2 separate regions of the Homo sapiens genome follow, and region 2 is linked to region 1. Evidence: promoter capture Hi-C in 16 types of primary human blood cells and fetal thymus (Javierre and others, 2016). All regions are on one chromosome and are shown on one strand. Each heading gives the region's core, a stretch centred on a gene start or on the middle of the fragment in contact. The rest is flanking DNA. Distances are from core to core; before and after follow the strand shown. Region 1 holds the start of OR5M10 (olfactory receptor family 5 subfamily M member 10). Region 2 holds the start of OR5M11 (olfactory receptor family 5 subfamily M member 11).

Region 1 (6,126 bases), core at 356-2,855:
GAGTTAACATTAACAGGTAGGTCATTTGCTACATTTGTTCACTAAAAATACAACTTTTTCTGTGTGTGGAGATTAGTATCCAATCAATAGAGGAAACCCATATTTTCATCAATTTCACTGGACTTTTCTATTCATATGTTAACATTTCATTGACTCTAAAATCAATTATATGCAAGCTCCTCTGATGTATATGTGAGAGCTAAATAAGCAATTTCTTTAGGGTGCAAATTTTTGAGCAATAATTTTTACAGTCATAGCTTATTTTCATGAAGAACTCAGAGAGAGTGGCTTGAGTTGGCAGCAAAGACTGCTTTTAACAATGTTCTGTGATTCTCTAACAATATTTTAATAAGTAGTTTAGTGGCATATAAATGGAGACAAAAAAACTTCACTCTCTTCCTTCAGGTGCTATAATTGTTTATTTACTGTTCAAATGTTGCATTCTCAGAAAAGGCTACTTTGAATAGTCATCTAAAAGAATCTCACATTCATTGTTCTTCACAGACCCAGCTTTTACTTGAAATTATAATATGTATCTTTCTCTGTGGGTTTAACCATTATTTCTCATATTATAATGTGAGCTCCATGAAACTGGAAAATTTGTTCACTCCAATAACCCCAGGAATTGTAATACACACAAAAAAATCAAGCTATGCAGTCAGTGTACATGAATAAACAGGCAGGTAAAATTTCAAAGTGAAAAAACAGTTCTTGGTTTTGTATATTCTTAGCCATATATCAAGCACTAAGTTTAACTAATTTAATGTTCACTGACAATCATAGGTTTCTGTTTGTTTGTTTGTTTGTTTGTTTGAGACGGAGTCTCGCTCTGTCGCCCAGACTGGAGTGCCCTGGTGTGATCTCGGCTCACTGCAAGCTCCGCCTCCCGGGTTCACGCCATTCTCCTGCCTCAGCCTCCCGGTAGCTTGGACTACAGGCGCCCGCCACTACGCCTGGCTACTTTTTTGTATTTTGAGTGGAGATGGGGTTTCACAGTGTTAGCCAGGATGGTCTTGATCTCCTGACCTCGTGATCTGCCCGCCTCGGCCTCCCAAAGTGCTAGGATTACAGGCGTGAGCCACCGCGCCCGGCCGACAGTCATAGGTTTTAAGTGAAAATGCTACCTTAATTTTTTTCTTCTGTTTTGTATCTGAAATAATAAGATATCAGACATGGAGGGAAACTGAAGATTGGACTTCCTACATTTATTTATTTAAATGATGCTAATATTAATATCTGATATTCATTTCTTTGTTTTTTTTGTTCCCTCACAAACCTTGAAAATAATTACCAAATGTAGAATTCACCAAGAAGACAAGTATAAATGCATTAATGTATAAATTTATAAATGTATATATATAAGAGACAGAAATAGAGAATGTGCCTGTGTGTGTGTGGGTTTGAGATACAAAAAGAGACAGAAAACACACACATATAAAGAGAAAACGTTGTGCAGAAATTCTGATGTGTTTATTGAAAAAAGTAATTGGTGCCTAGATGAATAGATGAATGAGTGAATGATAAATGGATGAAACAAATGCCAAATCTGGATCAGAGAGAATCCTCACATTCTTTGTCACTTTCAGTTTTCAAGAAATAAGAAGATGTTGTCCCCAAACCACACCATAGTGACAGAATTCATTCTCTTAGGACTGACAGACGACCCAGTGCTAGAGAAGATCCTGTTTGGGGTGTTCCTGGCGATCTACCTAATCACACTGGCAGGCAACCTGTGCATGATCCTGCTGATCAGGACCAATTCCCAACTGCAAACACCCATGTATTTCTTCCTTGGTCACCTCTCCTTTGTAGACATTTGCTATTCTTCCAATGTTACTCCAAATATGCTGCACAATTTCCTCTCAGAACAGAAGACCATCTCCTACGCTGGATGCTTCACACAGTGTCTTCTCTTCATCGCCCTAGTGATCACTGAGTTTTACTTCCTTGCTTCAATGGCATTGGATCGCTATGTAGCCATTTGCAGCCCTTTACATTACAGTTCCAGGATGTCCAAGAACATTTGCATCTCTCTGGTCACTGTGCCTTACATGTATGGCTTCCTTAATGGGCTCTCTCAGACACTGCTGACCTTTCACTTATCCTTCTGTGGCTCCCTTGAAATCAATCATTTCTACTGCGCTGATCCTCCTCTTATCATGCTGGCCTGCTCTGACACCCGTGTCAAAAAGATGGCAATGTTTGTAGTTGCAGGCTTTACTCTCTCAAGCTCTCTCTTCATCATTCTTCTGTCCTATCTTTTCATTTTTGCAGCGATCTTCAGGATCCGTTCTGCTGAAGGCAGGCACAAAGCCTTTTCTACGTGTGCTTCCCACCTGACAATAGTCACTTTGTTTTATGGAACCCTCTTCTGCATGTACGTAAGGCCTCCATCAGAGAAGTCTGTAGAGGAGTCCAAAATAATTGCAGTCTTTTATACTTTTTTGAGCCCAATGCTGAACCCATTGATCTATAGCCTACGGAACAGAGATGTAATCCTTGCCATACAACAAATGATTAGGGGAAAATCCTTTTGTAAAATTGCAGTTTAGGCCTGTGTTTATTTGTAATCCCTAAGTGCCTGTGGGGTAACAAACTGAAATGGAAAAACCTAGTGTAGTTATTATTTAACAGTATGGGCTCTTAGTAACCACTTTAGTTTCTTCTCAAAATTAACACTTTGAAGATTTAGTTTTTAAAAATAAAAAGCTTAATGTTGAAATTAATAATGTTTTATTTGTCAGAGATTCTATGAATATAAATTGTTTGGTTTCTAATAATTCTGTATGAAAATACTGGGTTTACTTACTTGGGGGTAAACTTTTAACTAACTTAGCCTGAGAGAAACTCTGAAAATCCAACCCCTTTGAATATTACTATCCATAGAGCCATAGTGAGGCTCCAGATAGGGTGGCTAATTTTACATTTTTAAAAAAATGATGCCGGGCATGGTGGCTCACATCTGTAATCCCAGCACTTTGGGAGCCAGAGATAGGTGGATCACCTGAGGTCAGGAGTTTGAGACCAGCTTGGCCAACATGGTGAAACCCCGTCTCTCCTAAAATTACAAAATTAGCTGGTTGTGGTGGCACATGCCTGTAATCCCAGCTACTCAGGAGGCTGAGGCTGGAGAATAGCTTGAACCTGGGAGGCGGAGGTTGCAGTGAGTCAAGATCACGCCATTGTACTTACTCCACTTGGGCGACAAGAGCGAAACTCCATCTCCAAAAAAATAAATAAATAAATAAATAAAAAGAAAACGAAAAAAGAAAAAAATTGTTTCTACTTCAATGTGGTGTCTTGAACAATAGTTCTGAAACCTGTGAACTTATTGTAATCACTGTGCAAAAAATGTAAATATATGAATCACCTATAAGTTAAATTTTCTGTAAGTATTCTCAAAACCCACACTGTAAACATCGTGAGAAGCTTCTTATTGGTTCATGTGGTAATACCAGTTATGGTCCTCAATTCTGAAAATCAACTCTCAACACCCTTTTTTTTTTTTGAGTTTTCAAGTGCATGGATCCATTTCTATCATCAAAATACTTCAATTGCATTCCACGTATGTTTTCCAGTGAAGTACCTCTGACTTAGGAATAATTTAGTAGGAATCAATAGGGTTTATCAATTGATATTTGCATATGCATAAATGACTTTGTTAGTGGAAAAAGGGGTCTTGATCCAGATCCCAGCAGGGGGTTCTTGGATCTACAGAGGAAAAATTTCAAGATAAGCTGCAAAGTGCAGTGAGAAGAGATAGTTCATTAAATGCTACTCCAAAGAGATCATTTATTAAAGGCTATTGCATTACAGAGTAAGGTGTTCCCAGAAAGCAAGTGGAGGAATGCACCCTCTTTAAGTTTTTTTAATGGTCTTTTATCTACGTACAGACTAAAGTAAGTTGTGGCTACATGTGGGTAGGCTGACGGCATGACAAAATTTATCATTCTGTTGATTTAAAGAAAACGATCCTTGATATTTTAGTGTGTGCATAACTATTATTATCATGATAAAAGCATATACTCTTATGAGAATTGGGACACCTAGGTTCTCTTGCTGCATTATTAGCGTGTTCTTGTAGGTATTTTTAGGCTGTTTCCTAAACTATAAGCATCTTATGAACATGGGTCATGACCGGCCAGGACTGTGCCTTGTTAACCTCAAGACAGAGTTGATTTTAAAATGTTGTCACCCTGGATCTCCTAGACTCCTGCTTCTTTAACACCCTGAAACAGTATAAAAATTAATAGGGGCGTACGTATCTTTTTGGAGGAAATAGTGTTTATTTTGCTTCACACAACTGTCTGTGGCACATTATTTTTTTACATTAGGGTATTCTAGTTCTCAAAGCTACTACAGGGAAAATCAATCACAAAGAGGCTAAATAAAGATACACATTAATCAATGTATTATTTAGTCAACCAGATGACTGCATATTAATACATACATATTTAGCCCTATTAAATTGCCTCTTATGTTTGACATTTTAATATTTTGCACTCTGCTTTTAACTAACACTATACAGAAAATGCTACAGAAAATGCTTATATGATATCAACTACTGTATCTACTATAAAATGTTCAAGTGGTTTTCCAGAATATTAAACAGATGACTAACAGTTTTTGTAAAATTGGGTTATATTCTTAAGTGTCAGTTGGTTGAATAAGTCTGGTTCTATCCAAATCTGCTTTTAGAAACAGTAACTGAAAAAGAAAGAAGGCAATTTTGGGCAGCAACAATTTAATATTTACCTTTTAGCACTATTTGTGTATTTGCCTGGTTTTGGCAATGGCAGTGGCACAACAGAAGCAGGTGATCTGTAGAGACAAGAGTGAAGCAGAAGAGCTGGGAACTGAGTGACACAGCGTCCTTACTTCCTTTTAGAGGCCCAGCATCATTTCATCTGTGGGATATTTCTTTATCTTATGACAACATCATTTAATCTGTGGGATAGCTCTTTATATTATTCTTTTATCTTCCTCTTTTGGTTAGGCAAAGCATTGTGTTCAATTTCTAGCAAGTAGAGTGGTCTGATACTCTATTTGAAAACTGTATTTTAGAATTGGTACAAACACACTCTATATTTTGCCTAAATAACTGTATACTTCCTTTTATTTTCTAGTTATGAGAATTGCTGTGGCTTGCAGCAACCAAACTTAAACTTTGACACCTTTGTAACCCAAATGCTTGACCTGTTTGTAATCTCTTTTTTTTAAAATATGTATTTATTTATTCTATTTGTAATTTAATTTTTTAATTGTGCAAGCCCTTGGGTAAAAGTTATCTCAGAAATTCTTTGGAGATAGAATAGAACATAAATGGACATGAATAGAAATAGTGACAATTGATGTAATCATAGTGTATTGCTAATTTTAGGATTACTGTTTTTTCTTTTCTTAAATGAAAATGAAGTAGTGAGAGAATTATTATCTTCATTTACAATATTTGGAGTCTTAGACACAGAGAGATGAAATGACTTGCCTAACGTCATTTGGCCACTCAGTAGCACAAAAGCAGATTTCTTGGTTTTAAATTTTCTCTCTTTCTAATTCATACTGAAGTGGTTATTAAGCCATTCTTCAACACACTTCAAATGCTGGGGGGAATATTGGAGACTATGAATTAATAAGAGTGTTACTATAGATTAAATAGTGGTTATTATGTGATAGTGAGATGTATCCTAACAACAGCTAATGTGAATTTTCCCTGACAGTCAGGCTAATGTGATCATTTATATGCATGATAATTAAAATTGTCTTAATATCCATGTGAAGGGAGAAAATTTTGATATATGGGAAACCTTTATGCTTCTTAGGCTGCATTTTATTAATATATTTTCCCAATTATAAAAGCACACATATTTATATTAATTAATTTCCAGGTACAGACAAATATAAAAACATAAAATTTATTAAGGACCTGCTATGACAAGGAATAAGTTTTGTTTATATTTTGTTATATTTCTTCTCAATAAATGTATATGACTACATGTTACTATAATGCACAAAACAAATATAAAGTTACTCACCATATAATAATATGAATACAGATTTTCATTTGATACTATAATGTATGCACCTTTACATAGATTAAATATTTTATGAACATTTTTAATGTCATAT
Region 2 (5,358 bases), core at 1,722-4,221, 34 kb after region 1:
AGTGATAGTTTCCAAAGAACCATTACATCTGGTATCCTTGTATTTGCTCGTTATCCTTCTGTAGACCCAGGAAATCTGAGACAGGTCTCAGTTAGTTTAGAAAGTTTATTTTGCCAAGGTTGAGGACACACCTGTGACACAGCTTCCAGAGGTCCTGAGGACATGTGTTGAAGGTGGTCATGGTACAGCTTGCTTTTATACATTTTAGAGAGACATAATCTATCAATCAATACATGTAAGATTTACCTTGGTTTGGTGCAGGACAACTCAAAGTCCAGGTTGGGGCAGCGTGGCGTGGCGTTTCCAGGCTGTAGGTAAATTTAAATATTTTCTGGTTGACAATTGGTTTGTCTAAAGACCTGAGATCAATAGAAAAGTCTGTGTTATGTTAATGCTGGAGAGGAATAATGAGGCATGTCCGACCCCCATTTCCCTTAACCGCCTGAACTAGTCTTTCAAGTTAAATTTTACAAGCCCTGGCTGAGGAGGAAGTCCCTTTATTTATTTTTGGTTTACACTTCTTATGATATCCTTCTTAGAAGTTTTCTTGCTACAGTTGTTGCCATAAACTTTACTTTTTTTTTTTTTTTGGTAGAACCTTACTCTGTCGCCAGGCTGGAGTACAGTGGCTGATCTCCGCTCACTGCAACCTCTCCATCCTGGGCTTGAGCAATTCTTCTGCCTCAGCCTCCGAAGTAGCTGAGATTACAGGCACGTGCCACCACACCTGACTGATTTTTGTATTTTTAGTAGAGATGGGGTTTCTCCGTGTTGGCCAGGCTGGTCTTGAACTCCTGACCTCAGGTGACCCACCCGCCTCAGCCTCCCAAAGTGCTCGAACTACAGGCATGAGCCATCCTGCCTGGCCAAACATTACTTTTTTAATGAGGTCTTCCTTGACTTTCCTTTCCCCAAAACTGTATTTCCTTTATTTTTCTCCACAACAGTTATTTGAATATTATTTATTTACTTGAAATAATAGCTCTCTCTGTCCACTAGAATGGGAAAACCAAAAAAAGCAGAAATTTTTGAAAGGTTTGTTCGCTTCTGCATCTATAGTGCCCAATCACACAAAATATTGAGTATCAGTAAATACTTGTTTCATGAATATCTATTTTGATGCCCAAAATGACATGAGAAGAGGAAAGATAAATATTATTATTTCCATTTACACATGGGAAAACACAGTGATTCATTCAGTTGCAAAGCTTTTAAATTACTGAAGTAACTCTGTAATCCAGGGCTCCTAACCAGCTCCTAACATCAAGATATGTCATAGCTTCTACTTGATATTTCTTAGATATATCACATACAGGTACTCAAGGGCACAAGTCAGTCACATAGTAGAACATGACTAAGTGTAAGGAGAATGTGTCTGGCACAATCCTGTTTATCATGGTGCACTATGTAAGAATGCCATGACTATCTGTGTCCCCAGAAGTTCCTTATCATCATATATCTCAAGGCCTTCCAGGTCTATACATACAATTTTATGAAACAGTTTAGCTTTAGAAAGGTGATATGTATTGCAGCAGCAGCTAATAAAGGAAGTTTTTAAAATACATAATTTTCAGTTCTTACCTCAGATTCTCAGATTGTATGCACTAGTAGTGTGACCTCGGTTCAATTATTTAACCTTTTTGTACGTTGCTTTTCTCAATAGTAACAGCAAGACAGAGTTTTGATTATAGGCATTCTAAAACTTACAGTAAAATAAATGAGGTGACTCATTTTGAGATGAGACAAGAATTGAGAAGCCTGTAATAAAAATTTCAAGTATGAAAGAATGGGCAAAAATTAAAAACTTCTCGAAAGAAAGGAAAATGTGAATTAGCAAAGATTCTGATGTGAAGAGAGGTAAAAAGCCAAAAGGATTTGTAATACCTCTTGTTAGATACAAGTTGTGATTAAAAGATTAAATACCAACTCTGAAAATATTAATTTATTTTCTTTCTAAACACATTAAGTCATTGCTCTAAACATCCTCAAGATACTATATGAAAATTTATTTTATTTCACAGTTCTTTGTTCATTTATTTGGCATATGTTTATTGAGCCATTCTGACTGTGCATTTTGAGCTATGATCTTGGAACACTTGCATTAGAATCCTACAGATAATCATTAGAGATGAAGATTCCAGTACCCCACATAAGAATTTCTGCAAAAACCTGTGATATGGGCTAATAAACAAGCTTCCCAAGAATTGCTTCTACACTAAGTTTCAATAATCACTTAATTCTCCTGAGAACATGACATCACGCAAGGCTACATGGAGATAAATCTGTGAGTAAAAATTGCAAGTCATTCATTCTTACATGCTCTCCTTTTTGCATTTTAAGAAAATTTAGTATAAAAATATGTGTTGAGAAGTATAATTAAAAAATGAACTTCACTTTGTCCCTGCTCTCAACACCATTATGTGATGAGAAAGTATATACTTTATAATGATACAATGGGGGCTAAATAATAAATTAGAGAAATATAGAATACTCTGGAAATAAAGAAGAGAGAATTCAGTGACACGTATTAGGAGAAATGGATGAGAAATGCTTCACAAAGAAGTGGCCTTTAAAGTGGGTCATGTAGCATGAATAGAATTAGGTTTTAAAAAGTACAGGAAGATAGAAGAGATGTAGCTCAGTCATATAGATAGATAGATAGATAGATAGATAGATAGATGATGGATAGATAGATACAGGTGTAGGTATAGATATATCTATAGGTGTAGAGAAAGAATATATTAGTAATGTAATGCCTAGGCAAATGATATAATGACATTGTAGACTTACAAAATTATAGTAAGTCTACCATAATTACCAAAACCAGTTTATGGTAGTACCCAGAAATAGATAACTTTCGATGATATATGAAGATGTGGAGAAAAACTAATTCAAATGAACATTAACATGGTATGTGCATTTGTTTATATTGGCTTTATTTCCATAGCTTGAAGAGCAAACTGTCAGGAAATGTCCAACACAAATGGCAGTGCAATCACAGAATTCATTTTACTTGGGCTCACAGATTGCCCGGAACTCCAGTCTCTGCTTTTTGTGCTGTTTCTGGTTGTTTACCTCGTCACCCTGCTAGGCAACCTGGGCATGATAATGTTAATGAGACTGGACTCTCGCCTTCACACGCCCATGTACTTCTTCCTCACTAACTTAGCCTTTGTGGATTTGTGCTATACATCAAATGCAACCCCGCAGATGTCGACTAATATCGTATCTGAGAAGACCATTTCCTTTGCTGGTTGCTTTACACAGTGCTACATTTTCATTGCCCTTCTACTCACTGAGTTTTACATGCTGGCAGCAATGGCCTATGACCGCTATGTGGCCATATATGACCCTCTGCGCTACAGTGTGAAAACGTCCAGGAGAGTTTGCATCTGCTTGGCCACATTTCCCTATGTCTATGGCTTCTCAGATGGACTCTTCCAGGCCATCCTGACCTTCCGCCTGACCTTCTGTAGATCCAGTGTCATCAACCACTTCTACTGTGCTGACCCGCCGCTCATTAAGCTTTCTTGTTCTGATACTTATGTCAAAGAGCATGCCATGTTCATATCTGCTGGCTTCAACCTCTCCAGCTCCCTCACCATCGTCTTGGTGTCCTATGCCTTCATTCTTGCTGCCATCCTCCGGATCAAATCAGCAGAGGGAAGGCACAAGGCATTCTCCACCTGTGGTTCCCATATGATGGCTGTCACCCTGTTTTATGGGACTCTCTTTTGCATGTATATAAGACCACCAACAGATAAGACTGTTGAGGAATCTAAAATAATAGCTGTCTTTTACACCTTTGTGAGTCCGGTACTTAATCCATTGATCTACAGTCTGAGGAATAAAGATGTGAAGCAGGCCTTGAAGAATGTCCTGAGATGAAATATTGTCATGACCATGGTGATGCCTTTGTTTCCTAATAAACATTAAATCGAAATCTTTGGCTCACATGTCCTAGCGTTCTGATGGTGAGTTTTAATATTCTCTGTGAGTCTATGTTGAGTGTCTCAGCTAAAAAGCTCATGCTGGGTAAAAATGAGATTTTTCTAGGCTTTGCTCCTCCACATATATTCCATGAATCAGCAGCATGAGCTCTTCCTTGGAGGTTGTTACACGTACAGAATCAAAGTCTGCACCTCAGGTGCACTGTATTTAAATATGTGTTTTATCCAAACTCCTAGATGATTGATAAGCACACTGAATTTTGAGGAGCACTGCTGTGGGTGAAACGTGGCATGCCCTGGAACACTGTTGTGCTCTTTTTGTTTACAATGGCAAACAAAATAAATGTGCTCCCAGCCCAATTTCTTGAATGTATTCTATTCTTATTCTCGCCTGCTGCTTCAGCAGAGATGTCTTTAAGAAACCCATTCTTCTGCACTCCAAGAAATCCATTCTTCTGTACTCCTTTCCTGACTTGCTGTGGTAGACCAGAAACTAGGGGCCATGGTGATGGCTTCTGGTTTTTATAAGTGCTCTTACATAGTGAAGAGTGGCAATGGAAAAAGAGGGGAAGAGAATGATTGTACTTTTCTTAAACTTGAGTTTATGGATCCAGCTCTCTGAGTTACATAAACCCACCTTCCCATTCTGAGCCTCCAGTGTATGGAGGTCACTTTCTGTTTCGCCTGATTTTGAAAAATTTAAGCAGGCTGATCTGAGAATAAGGACTAAAATTAAAATGGGAAATGAAAGAACCGAGTAAACAATAGGTCATACGATAGAGTATCCACCTTGCTTTGAATATTCCTTCTATTTGTAATTAAGTTTAGGTAAGTAATGTTAATTTTTTGTTTTCCTTAGCACTGGCCTGTTTATATGTGTCCAAGGAAGTAAGGATTTCTTCCACAGGAAGAGAAGACATTGCTCTGGCATCTTCAAGAAACTTTAGAAAGTAGAAAGAATTCCTCTTTAGACATTATGCTAAAATGAATTATTTAAGGAACAAGTAAAAAATATATTTTTTTAAGATAGAGTTTCACTCTGTTGCCCAGGTTGGAGAACAGTGGCATGATCATATTAATAACTTCCTCCAACTCCTAGGCTCAAGTGACCCTCCCGCCTGAGCCTCCCTAGTAGCTGGGACCACAGGTGTGTGCTACCACACTCGGCTAATTTTTAAATTTTTTTGTAGATCTGATATCTGTCTATATTGCCCAGGAAGGTCTTAAACTCCTGGGCTCAAGTGGCTCTCCTGCCTCAGCCTCCCAAAATGCTGGGATTATAGGCATAAATTACTGTGCCTGGTCAAGATTCTTCTACTCTCCAAACTTTCTACTTATTGCCTCAAAATACTAAATATTTTCTAAATATCTTTATTGGAAGGCAAATTCTGCCATTACGCCATTAGAA

The links. Contacts are between HindIII fragments. The CHiCAGO score rates a contact against its expected background, and 5 or more counts as called.
Region 2: a contact is called between the fragment with the promoter of OR5M11 here and the fragment with the promoter of OR5M10 in region 1, in 9 of 17 cell types (neutrophils, fetal thymus, activated CD4 T cells and 6 more). The highest score is 10.7, in neutrophils.

Annotation. Positions count from the first base shown.
Region 1 is chr11:56,573,200-56,579,325 of GRCh38, reverse strand. It overlaps OR5M10 (olfactory receptor family 5 subfamily M member 10), which reads left to right and starts at 1,605. Exons shown (of 1, transcript NM_001004741.1): 1 at 1,605-2,552. The coding sequence starts at 1,605. The coding sequence ends at 2,552. The HindIII fragment of the contact is 7,953 bases long and covers 1-2,711 here.
Region 2 is chr11:56,540,870-56,546,227 of GRCh38, reverse strand. OR5M11 (olfactory receptor family 5 subfamily M member 11) reads left to right here and starts at 2,971. Exons shown (of 1, transcript NM_001005245.1): 1 at 2,971-3,888. The coding sequence starts at 2,971. The coding sequence ends at 3,888. The HindIII fragment of the contact is 1,332 bases long and covers 2,196-3,527 here.